Linked DNA regions of Homo sapiens: all the other regions are linked to region 3. Evidence: promoter capture Hi-C in human tissues and cell types (Jung and others, 2019). All regions are on one chromosome and are shown on one strand. The core of a region is centred on a gene start or on the middle of the fragment in contact, and the rest is flanking DNA. Distances in the headings are between cores, read along the strand shown. Region 1 overlaps ZBTB1 (zinc finger and BTB domain containing 1). Region 2 overlaps ZBTB25 (zinc finger and BTB domain containing 25). Region 3 holds the start of AKAP5 (A-kinase anchoring protein 5).

Region 1 (3,390 bases), core at 423-2,922, 58 kb after region 3:
GAAGACATCCAGGATGCAGATTGTTCTAGTTCAAAATGTTCCTCTTCTGCTTCCAGCAAACAGAACAGCAAAATGATATTTGGGGTAAGAATGTATGAAGATACTGTGGCTCGAAATGGCAATGAAGCCAACAGGTGGTGTGCAGAGCCAAGTTCAACGGTAAATACACCACATAATAGAGAGGCTGATGAAGAGTCTTTACAATTAGGTAATTTTCCTGAGCCACTATTTGATGTATGTAAAAAAAGTTCCGTGTCCAAATTATCTACTCCAAAAGAACGTGTGTCAAGACGCTTTGGGCGGAGTTTTACCTGTGATAGCTGTGGATTTGGCTTTAGCTGTGAAAAATTATTAGATGAGCATGTGCTAACCTGTACTAACAGACATTTATACCAAAACACAAGATCTTACCATAGAATAGTAGATATTAGAGATGGAAAAGACAGTAACATCAAAGCTGAATTTGGTGAAAAAGATTCTTCCAAAACATTTTCTGCACAGACGGACAAATACAGAGGAGACACAAGCCAGGCTGCTGATGATTCAGCTTCAACCACTGGAAGCAGAAAAAGTAGCACAGTGGAGTCTGAAATAGCAAGCGAAGAGAAAAGCAGAGCTGCTGAGAGGAAAAGGATTATTATTAAGATGGAGCCAGAAGATATTCCTACAGATGAACTGAAAGACTTTAACATTATTAAAGTTACTGATAAAGACTGTAATGAATCCACTGACAATGATGAATTAGAAGATGAACCTGAAGAGCCATTTTATAGATACTATGTTGAAGAAGATGTCAGCATAAAAAAAAGTGGTAGGAAAACTCTAAAACCTCGAATGTCAGTAAGTGCTGATGAAAGAGGTGGTTTAGAGAATATGAGGCCCCCTAACAACAGCAGTCCAGTACAAGAGGATGCTGAAAATGCATCTTGTGAGCTGTGTGGACTTACAATAACCGAGGAGGACCTGTCATCTCATTACTTAGCCAAACACATTGAAAATATCTGTGCATGTGGTAAATGTGGACAAATACTTGTAAAGGGTAGGCAGCTTCAGGAACATGCTCAACGATGTGGCGAGCCCCAAGATCTGACCATGAATGGGTTAGGAAATACTGAGGAGAAAATGGACTTGGAAGAGAATCCTGATGAGCAGTCCGAAATAAGAGATATGTTTGTTGAAATGCTGGATGATTTTAGGGACAATCATTACCAGATAAACAGTATCCAAAAAAAGCAGTTATTTAAACATTCTGCCTGCCCTTTTCGATGTCCTAATTGTGGCCAGCGTTTTGAAACTGAAAATCTAGTGGTTGAACATATGTCTAGCTGCTTAGATCAAGATATGTTTAAGAGTGCCATCATGGAAGAAAATGAAAGAGATCACAGACGAAAGCATTTTTGTAATCTGTGTGGAAAAGGATTTTATCAGCGGTGTCACTTAAGAGAACACTATACTGTTCATACTAAGGAAAAACAGTTTGTTTGTCAAACATGTGGAAAGCAGTTTTTAAGAGAGCGTCAGTTGCGACTGCACAATGATATGCACAAAGGCATGGCCAGGTATGTCTGTTCCATTTGTGATCAAGGAAACTTCAGAAAACATGACCATGTACGGCATATGATTTCTCATTTATCTGCTGGTGAGACTATATGCCAGGTCTGCTTTCAGATATTCCCAAATAATGAACAGTTGGAGCAGCACATGGATGTTCATCTGTATACATGTGGAATATGTGGAGCAAAATTTAATTTGAGGAAAGATATGAGATCACATTATAATGCCAAGCATTTGAAAAGAACCTGAGTGATTTTCTACTGTACTAATGTTTAGATGATAGCAGATAAAACACCAAAGCAAAGGATATGAGCTATTTAGGAATTGATTATATAAGATGATTTGTTAGAAACAAATTTCAAGGCCCTTTTAACTTTAATATTTTTGTTTAGGATTTTAAGTATCTACATTTAGGTATTAAATGTTTATCATTTTTGTTGTTTCTTAATAGAATTATTTGTTTTTAGTTTTTCTTAGCTATGATTAAAATTTTTAAATGTAGACTACAAGTGGTTGTTACCCATTCAATGACTATTAAACTTTAGTTTTTCATCAATAAGGTGATGACTTCACTATTTCTATGTGTTTTTTTTTTTTTAAGGTTATCCTGTGAAATTTTAAACCCAGAATCATTGGCCATTTCTGTTTAAATTTTAAAAATTCCTTAAGTAATTATTTGAAACTATCCCGTTTGCTTTTAGTGAGTTAACTACTCTTTATTCCCCCTTATTAATGAAATTCATATTCTTAAATTGACAAGCTTATTAGGCAAGTTAGGTGCACTGAATCTAACCTTTAAGGTTGACATGGGCTCAAACTTGGCCTAAAAAGATTGATGAACCTGAGGAAATTTTTATAAATGAATATTTCCTATAATTGATAAAATATTATCATTTAATTATCACATTTAAAACTTATATTAAGTGTAAATTCCAGTGGCTTTACCTCACTTGAAAAATTAGTGGGGATAAGCCATTTTGTTTTGTGATATTAAATTTAACTATGATAGTTAATTAAAAAGACATATCTTGTATTCATTAAAAATATTTTAATTTAAAATATTCTGATTTCTAAAGTGTGTTAGCTTATCAATTATTTTTGTTTATAAATAGACTTTAATAGCTCTCTAAGAATATGACCTCTAAAGGAAAAGATGATTTTTTACAATACATACTTCTGGAACTTTGAGATTTGAGAAAGCTTCCATGTATATTGATAAATCTAATAAAATAAAGAGATCAATTATAAACCTGGTTGTTCTATAAAAGTAGAGTGCACAAAAAAATGTCTTGTGTTTTATACTGTCTAAGATTTGGAGGAAATGTGGCAAATTGCAGTTTATCGCCATATTTTATTATCATTTTTTTCTGTAAAAGACTATAAAACTTGAGGATTATAAAATAATCACAGAGTATATCAATGGAAACAGTTTATCATTTTTTCAGTTAAAGTAGTAGTATTGTTAGTTGTTGCTGACACAGGGTCTACATAATTACATGTGAATTAAAACATTGGCAAAACTGACCCACCAATAAACACATCTATTGAATAGAATGCCTTTTAATGTGAATTACTTGCAATGTAGTACCCTTTTCATAATGAAAGGGATTTTAATTAACTCCTAATTTTAAAAATATAAATTTGTGATTCTGAACACTAATAGCATTGCTCTTTTTGTTCACATCATATTTAAAATATGCAAATCATATTTTGTATACAATTTACATAAAAGAACAAGTTGCCAAAAGAACTGAGAGACATACTGGTGAGTACAGATTTAGTTGAAAGCATTAGAGCACCATGTGAGCTCAGATTTGTGGGGATATGTTGAAGTGT
Region 2 (3,679 bases), core at 267-2,766, 33 kb after region 3:
AAAAAAAAACACCAAGTACACATGAGGTGCATTCAAACTTGTTTTGCATAATAGGAGATCTTTGATGTTGTAATATACCAGATTTTACTTCAAATCAATAGCCCCATTCCATTGAGTTATTAGAACATTTTCTAATACAACCTACTCTGCAAATTATTAGCTAGACTTTTTGTATAGCCTTTGCTCATCATTCTTTGACTGTCTATTTTATTTTCTCTAGTATGTGAAATAGCTAAAGTTTCCCATGAATACAGAAAGAGCTTAGAAGTTACATTTGAGAATTTCTGGTGAGAATTTTAAGATGTGAGAGAAATTATGGAAAAATAAAGTATTTTATTATACTTATAAATACCAGAATCAAAATATGAGTGCTACATTTTTAAAAGTTTTATCTGTTATCAAAGTGATACATTATCATAATAGTTTTAGCATTGATATTTAAGAGATTACAAAAACCTTCTTTACCTTCTAGATTGTAGTAACTCTGGATTACTTCAAATTAAGATGGAACAACTTTATACTAGTATCTATGTTTGTTTAAAGCTGGCTTGATATTCAATACATATCTTTGATTCTTATGTATTTAGAAAAATCTACTGTACTAGACTGGACTCTCAGATCTATGGTAGCCAGCCGGATATCCTGGACTACACAGCTCTTCATTCTCTCAGGCTGTAAGAATCCTTAATAAAAAAGGAACAAAAAGAGCAAGACGACTGTTTCTGTAGGAAAACAGTCTTAGGTATTTTCTCTGTCAATGCTTACCACTGAGACTTTATGATGAATTTTCATTCAGACAAGGAGACAGGAAAGTTGGCAGAGGAATATGTACATCTTTTTTGAGCTACTTACTCATGGCTATAAATACAAAGGCAAAAGCAAAATATTTCAAGTGCCATATGATAAAAGACTTTATATAGCGACTAACTTTTTAATGGAACTTTCACATGACTGTAGAGGTGTGACATTTAATTATGTAGAGAATGAAACAATGTTTGTAGAAATCATTTTATCCTGAAACAGAGGTTCTTATTGCTGACTATACTGTAAAACCTTCTATGCAGAGCTGTATTGATGTCTGAGTCCCAACCCAGGCTTAGCCCAAACAGAATTGAATTGCTAGGGGTGAGGCACAGATTCTTTTTTTTTTTTTTTTGAGACAGAGTCTCGCTCTGTCGCCCAGGCTGCAGGCTGGAGTGCAATGGCGCGATCTCGGCTCAATGCAACCTCCGCCTCCTGGGTTCAAGTGCTTCTCCCGGACTCAGCCTCCTGAGTAGCTGGGATTACAGGTGCCCATCACGCCTGGCTAATTTTTATATTTTTAGTAGAGATGGGGTTTCGCCACGTTGGCCAGGCTGGTCTTGAACTCCTGACCTCAGGCGATCCGCCTGCCTTGGCCTCCCAAAGTGCTGGGATTACAGGCGTAGGCCACTGTTCCCGGCCAGATTGTTTATTTGTTTATTTATTTTTATTTTTATTTTTTTGAGACAGAGTCTCACTCTGTTGCCCAGGCTGGAGTGCAGTGGCACGATCTCGGCTCACTGCAAGCTCCGCCTCCCGGGTTCGCGCCATTCTCCTGCCTCAGCCTCCCGAGTAGCTGGGACTACAGGCGCCCACCACCACACCCAGCTAATTTTTTTGTATTTTTAGTCGAGACGGGGTTTCACTGTGTTAGCCAGGATGGTCTCGATTTCCTGACCTCATGATCCACCCGCCTCGGCCTCCCAAAGTGCTGTGATTACAGGCGTGAGCCACCGCGCCCAGCCCAGATTCTTTTTTTAAAAAGCTTCCCAGGTGATTCTAACGTGACTGCTCAGTTAAGAACCACTGCCTCAGAAGAACACGGGACCAAGGAAACCCAAGAAATTATTTCACACTCTACAATTACATTGATATTTAAGAGACAATAAAAACTTTCTTTACTTTCTAGATTGTATAACTCTGGATTAGTTCAAACTAAGTAAGATAGAACAACTTTATACTAGTCTCTATAAATAAACAATTCCGTAAGAGTGTTCAAAGTATGGAAATTATGTTGACTACATTAAATGAACAAATATAAACAACTGTAATTCTAATTGTAACCTTAAAATATTGGCCAGATTAAGAAACAAAAGTGCTCCATGGCCAGGCATGGTGGCTCGCTCCCAGCACTTTGGGAGGCCGAGGCAGGTGGATTACCTGAGGTCGGGAGTTCGAGACCAGCCTGACCAACATGAAGAAACCCCGTCTCTACTAAAAATACAAAATTAGCCAGGTGTGGTGGCACATACCTATAATCCCGGCTACTCGGGAGGCTGAGGCGGGAGAATCGCTTGAACCCAGGAGGCAGAGGTTGTGGTGAGCTGAGATTGTGTCATTGCACTCCAGTCTGGGCAACAAGAGTGAAACTCCATCTCAAAAAAAAAAAGAAAAAGAAAAAAAAGAATCAAAAGTGCTCCTAAACTGGCAGGATGGGCATGGGTGGGGGGGTGGAGGAACACACTATTTTCAGACTTCTTTTCAAATAGTATTTAGGAAAAAGAAATATTTACTCTCTTACTCCATTACACCTAGATTGGATTTCATAACACCTAAAAATGATACAGAAATTCTAAATCTGAAAATACTGTTTGAGGTAAAATCTGCTGTAATTCCAGACATCTGCTTATTAAGATCTACTGAGAATGTTAGCAAAGAGGGTATGGAGGGGGTAGATGAAACAGGAAGAGTAGTTATGCTCTAGAAACCTTTAATGGAACTGGGAAACGTTAGTTTGGGGCCTCCTGCCTGTTGGCAGACATAGCCAACCTCCAAGCACCTCTAATTCCCATCTAACCAACATTACATTGTAGGATGCCTGATAAAGCCAAGCACACAAGAATACTAACAACAGTAAGCACAAATTGTTAATAGACCTTTAAAAAAAATCAGAACCCGGAGAAAGAAAGGAAAAGATTCCTCTCAGTCCATTAAAGACAAACCAAATTTCTAAAAGAAAAAATAAGGTACTCAAAGGACAGGAGAAAGATGGAAAATTATAATGCTAGTACAGACCTAGAATACAGTACAGGCAAGAGTAACTAAAACTTCTGGATACAAGTAAACCAATACTTCTTTCGCAATGGAAGTATACTCCCATGAACACACTACTCAAGTGGGCTAATAAAAACCTTTGCTTAAAGTGCTTGGAGATTTCAGAAAAAATAAAACATCCATGCATGACTGATTTGTAACCAGAGAAGAAATGAATTAGAAAAATATAAAAAATAACTGAACACTCTAAGCACTTTTTCTCCCAATAAAGCAAAAAAAAAAAAAAAAAAAAAAGAGAGAGAGAGAGAAAGAAAATTCCTGCTAGCAAAGGGAAAGCAGAACGGTAAATAAATGCCTATAATCCCAGCACTTTAGGAGGCCGAGGAGGGTGGATCACCTGAGGTCAGAGTTCAAGACCAGCCTGGCCAATATGGTGAAACCGTCTCTACTAAAAATACAAAAATTAGTTGGGCGTGGTGGCAGACGTCTGTAATCCCAGCTACTTGGGAGGCTGAGGCAGAAGAATTGCCAATAAGGGGGAAAAACTCAAATGTCCATGGATAGTCAAATGGATAAAGAAAACATGGACCAGGCACAGTGGCTCACACCTATAATCCCAGCACTTTGGGAGGCCAAGGTGGGCGGATCACTTGAGGTCAGGAGT
Region 3 (3,351 bases), core at 381-2,880:
TGAGAAACCTTGGATCTCAATAAGGAATAGTTCTCAATTGCTTATAAGCATAATGGATTTCTTTTGGCTTAAAGTTCAAAACTGGCAACAAGCAGCGCTAGCAACCCATAGAGAGATACGCAGACCATTTCGATAGACGTGTTTGCTGAGTGAACAAGGCTGACTGAATTTTTTTTTTTTTTTGAGGCAGGGTCTCACTTTGTTGCCCAGGCTGGCGTGCAGTGGTGCAGTAGTGGCTCACAGCAGCCTTGACCTTCTGGGCCCAAGTGATCCTCCCTTCTCAGCCTCCTGAGCTCCTGAGTAACTGGGACCATACGTGCACCACCATGCCCAGCTAATTTTTTAGATTTTTTTGTCTCCCTATGTTGCCCAGGCTGGTCTCAAACTCTTGGACTCAAGCCATCCTCCTGCCTTGGCCTCCCAAAGTGCTGGGATTACAGGTGTGAGCTACTGCGCCCATCCCTGAATTCTTAATTACAACTAAACTAGATGCTTATGGATTTTCCTGTTTTACAACTCTTGCCTCTTTTATCTGTAATTTTAAGATCTTGACAGCTTATATTTGGCTTTGCTTTTGTGTCTCAAGAGTTCTTTCCTTGATAAGCCTCTGTGGAAACTACAGAATCTTACAAATATAAAACATTTCCGGAAAAAATACAAAAATGGACACCTGACATTTACACTCCCTAAGGTCGTGATCCTGTTGAAGAAAGGAGATGAACGCGGCTGCTTTTCAGTAGTTCTTCACTTCACCTTACCAGGTTCTTCATCTGGATGCTATGCTATGGGGGCCAGAGGAGGAGGCTGGGATTGTGATGGATCCTACTAGATTTTACAGCTGGAGCTCCCAGGAATGCCCTCATAGGGAATGTCCTGAAGGGAATCATGGGTAACTTGTAAGCTACCTCAACTTATTTTTGGAACTATGTAAGGTATAAGATGGATGGAGCTGGGTTCCTGTGCCTTTCTCACCTTGTCCGCATAGAGATGCAGCTGCTCCTGCAGGCCAAAGTTCTGCACCAATCACCTCCACCTGCTTCCCACTGGGAGACAAAGGTTTGAAAGCCTGTTTGGCGATGAACCACGATGATCTGACACTCAAGCCACTCCTGAGAAAGTCGGGTTTCTTTCTGTTTCCATTTATATATGTAATTTTCGCTTCAAACAAACATGACCTCGCTATTCTATGCACAGTTTTGAATCCTGCTTTTAAAATGCGATGTCTGCCTTGTCTTTAAATATTCTGAGGGGGAGGAGAGGAGATGTGTAATGCGACTGTCTATAATTTGAAACCGGACCTCACTATTTAGCGTCTCAGAAAACGCGGGGTTCATTGCCCTGGTCCCCCCCGCCTTCCCCCGCCCCCCGAACCTTCCGGCTGGCTCTCTTGCGGTCCCCGCCTCGGCGCTGATGTGGTCTGGCAGTGGAGATTGGCGCCCGGGCGGAGCACGATGGGCTTCCCCGCGGCAGGCAGGCAGGCTGCTGCTGCAGGTGGGTCCCGGCGCCCGCGCCGCCCCGCGCCTCCGGCGGTCGCCCCGCCCCTGCCCGCCCGCTCCGCTCCGCTCGCATTGGCGCTGCCTGCTGTCTGTCCCCGCGCGGTGGGGAGGGGGCGCACCCGGCGGCGGGCTCTGCAGAGGGCGCCTTGCTCCGGGTGCGACCGCGGCTCCCTGGAGGCCTGGGCGGCGGGCCCCGCGAGCGCGCCGCCACCTCGGGAGCAGTGTTGGCCAAGGACCCCGACGCCCTACGTAAGTAAAGGCAGGGCGGGGAGCCTGCGGGGGAGGAGGGTCGGGGGCAATGTCCGGTCCGCGGACCGCGGAGTGGGCAAGAGGTGCCCACTGGATACGGGGTATCCGAGCCCTCTGAGGTGCTGGGAGTAAGAACGCGGGAGGTCGCTTGTCCGCTGGAATCCGCGGCCAGGGCGACCCTCATCAGGTCTGCCCACCTATCCCCTTCGCGTTACAGCTTGTCTTAGAAGCATGGGTTGCCGGTGGCTTTTTTCCTTCTTTATCCCTCTTTGAGAAATGTGATTTTGGGTTTCTGGCCATTACATTATAATTCTGCAGACAGCCTGAAGCTGGGTTATCTGTTCCACGCCCCCGGCATTTTCCTTTTTGAGTACTTTATCCTGCGCTCTGTCTCCTGCCATAAGGGGCGTCAAGCCAGAATTCGAGATTCCTTCCTCCAGGAGGAAGCTTCGTGGTCCGTATCTGGTGCTGGGAAAGATGCATTGCTTTCCTCGGGTACTGGCTGCTCAAGGGAAAAAGGAAAGGGGGTGTTTTCTGTGACATGAGACTTGCAATTCCATCAGGAAATGAGCACAGGGACTTTAAGATTTCCTGAGGCGATAAAGCTACCCTTGCTGGTTAAGAGCGAATCATTTGCAGTCTGACATTCTGCAAAGTTTTATTGTCTACAGACTGCATTATTTTCCCTCGTTAGTTAAGTTTCTGTTTGGGTATTCGTTTTATTTCTAGTATGTGAGATACATTCAAGTGAGCTTCTCAAACGATTGTCTTTGCGCAATCCAGGTTAGTTTCCAATGACAGACTCCTAAACATCTCATTTCAATATTTCTATTATGTGGTAATACAGCCTCTGCTTAACAAAAATGCTCAGGTGCTGAAAACTCACAAGAGGTGAGAAGATTTAAACAGTTATCAGCTTAGGTTCTAGTGCTCACTGAAACATTGTGAGGAGAAACACTGTCAAATGTTCATATTTTAGTTCCGTCATTGTTCTAGAATGACTTTATCTTTCTGTTAGAGGCACACAGTATGAAACACCCAACCTAAGATAATATTTACTTAGATCATAAACTGATTTTCAGGGTTCCAGTTCCTTCTACAGTTCATAAAATTATGGGTTACCCAAATGAAACTTCAGTGAAGGATTTACATAAAAACAATATAAAGAATGAGTCCCTTTGCTTATTTTAGGGCATCCACCCACTAAAATTCATAGGATCTTTGTTGGATAATCACCTCCCATTTCCATTCTTTGGTGCCATCATACCATTCTAAGGATTAAATTTTCAATACACCTTTATATTATCTAAGTTTGCCAATTGCATAGTTTGCCAACTTATTTTTGGCTTTTAAATTAGTTCCTGAACCAAAAAAATAAAATATAAAGAATTTCAAAAGCTTGGTTTTCAAATGACAAGAACTCAGTCTACTCGTGGTTCAATTATGAGTTGATAAGTGCCTTATGGTTAAATGACCATTAATCAATTTTTTAATTTTTTTACTAATGAAACACTGCAGATTAGTATCCCCAAACAATTCATTTTCTGACGAAACTCTTAAAGCCCAGTTTCAGAACATAAGCTTTAAGCAACAAGCAATCTTGTGT

The links. Contacts are between HindIII fragments. The study calls those that stand out against the background at their distance.
Region 1: a fragment that was not itself captured here is called in contact with the fragment with the promoter of AKAP5 in region 3 in 1 of the 25 tissues and cell types used here (hippocampus).
Region 2: a fragment that was not itself captured here is called in contact with the fragment with the promoter of AKAP5 in region 3 in 8 of the 25 tissues and cell types used here (H1 embryonic stem cells, aorta, hippocampus and 5 more).

What each region holds. Positions count from the first base shown.
Region 1 is chr14:64,521,844-64,525,233 of GRCh38, forward strand. It overlaps ZBTB1 (zinc finger and BTB domain containing 1), which reads left to right. Exons shown (of 2, transcript NM_001123329.2): 2 at 1-3,108. The coding sequence ends at 1,803. All of the region lies in intron 2 of HSPA2-AS1 (HSPA2 and ZBTB1 antisense RNA 1), which reads right to left. Among named protein-coding and RNA genes, the nearest start is that of HSPA2-AS1, 17 kb to the right of the region's middle. The HindIII fragment of the contact is 4,162 bases long and covers 1-3,390 here.
Region 2 is chr14:64,497,168-64,500,846 of GRCh38, forward strand. All of the region lies in intron 1 of ZBTB25 (zinc finger and BTB domain containing 25), which reads right to left. Among named protein-coding and RNA genes, the nearest start is that of ZBTB25, 4.8 kb to the right of the region's middle. The HindIII fragment of the contact is 7,112 bases long and covers 1-3,679 here.
Region 3 is chr14:64,463,869-64,467,219 of GRCh38, forward strand. It overlaps AKAP5 (A-kinase anchoring protein 5), which reads left to right and starts at 1,631. Exons shown (of 2, transcript NM_004857.3): 1 at 1,631-1,745. It also overlaps a transcript of ZBTB25 not described here. RefSeq lists silencers at 1,426-1,825, 1,836-1,905. The HindIII fragment of the contact is 11,787 bases long and covers 1-2,667 here.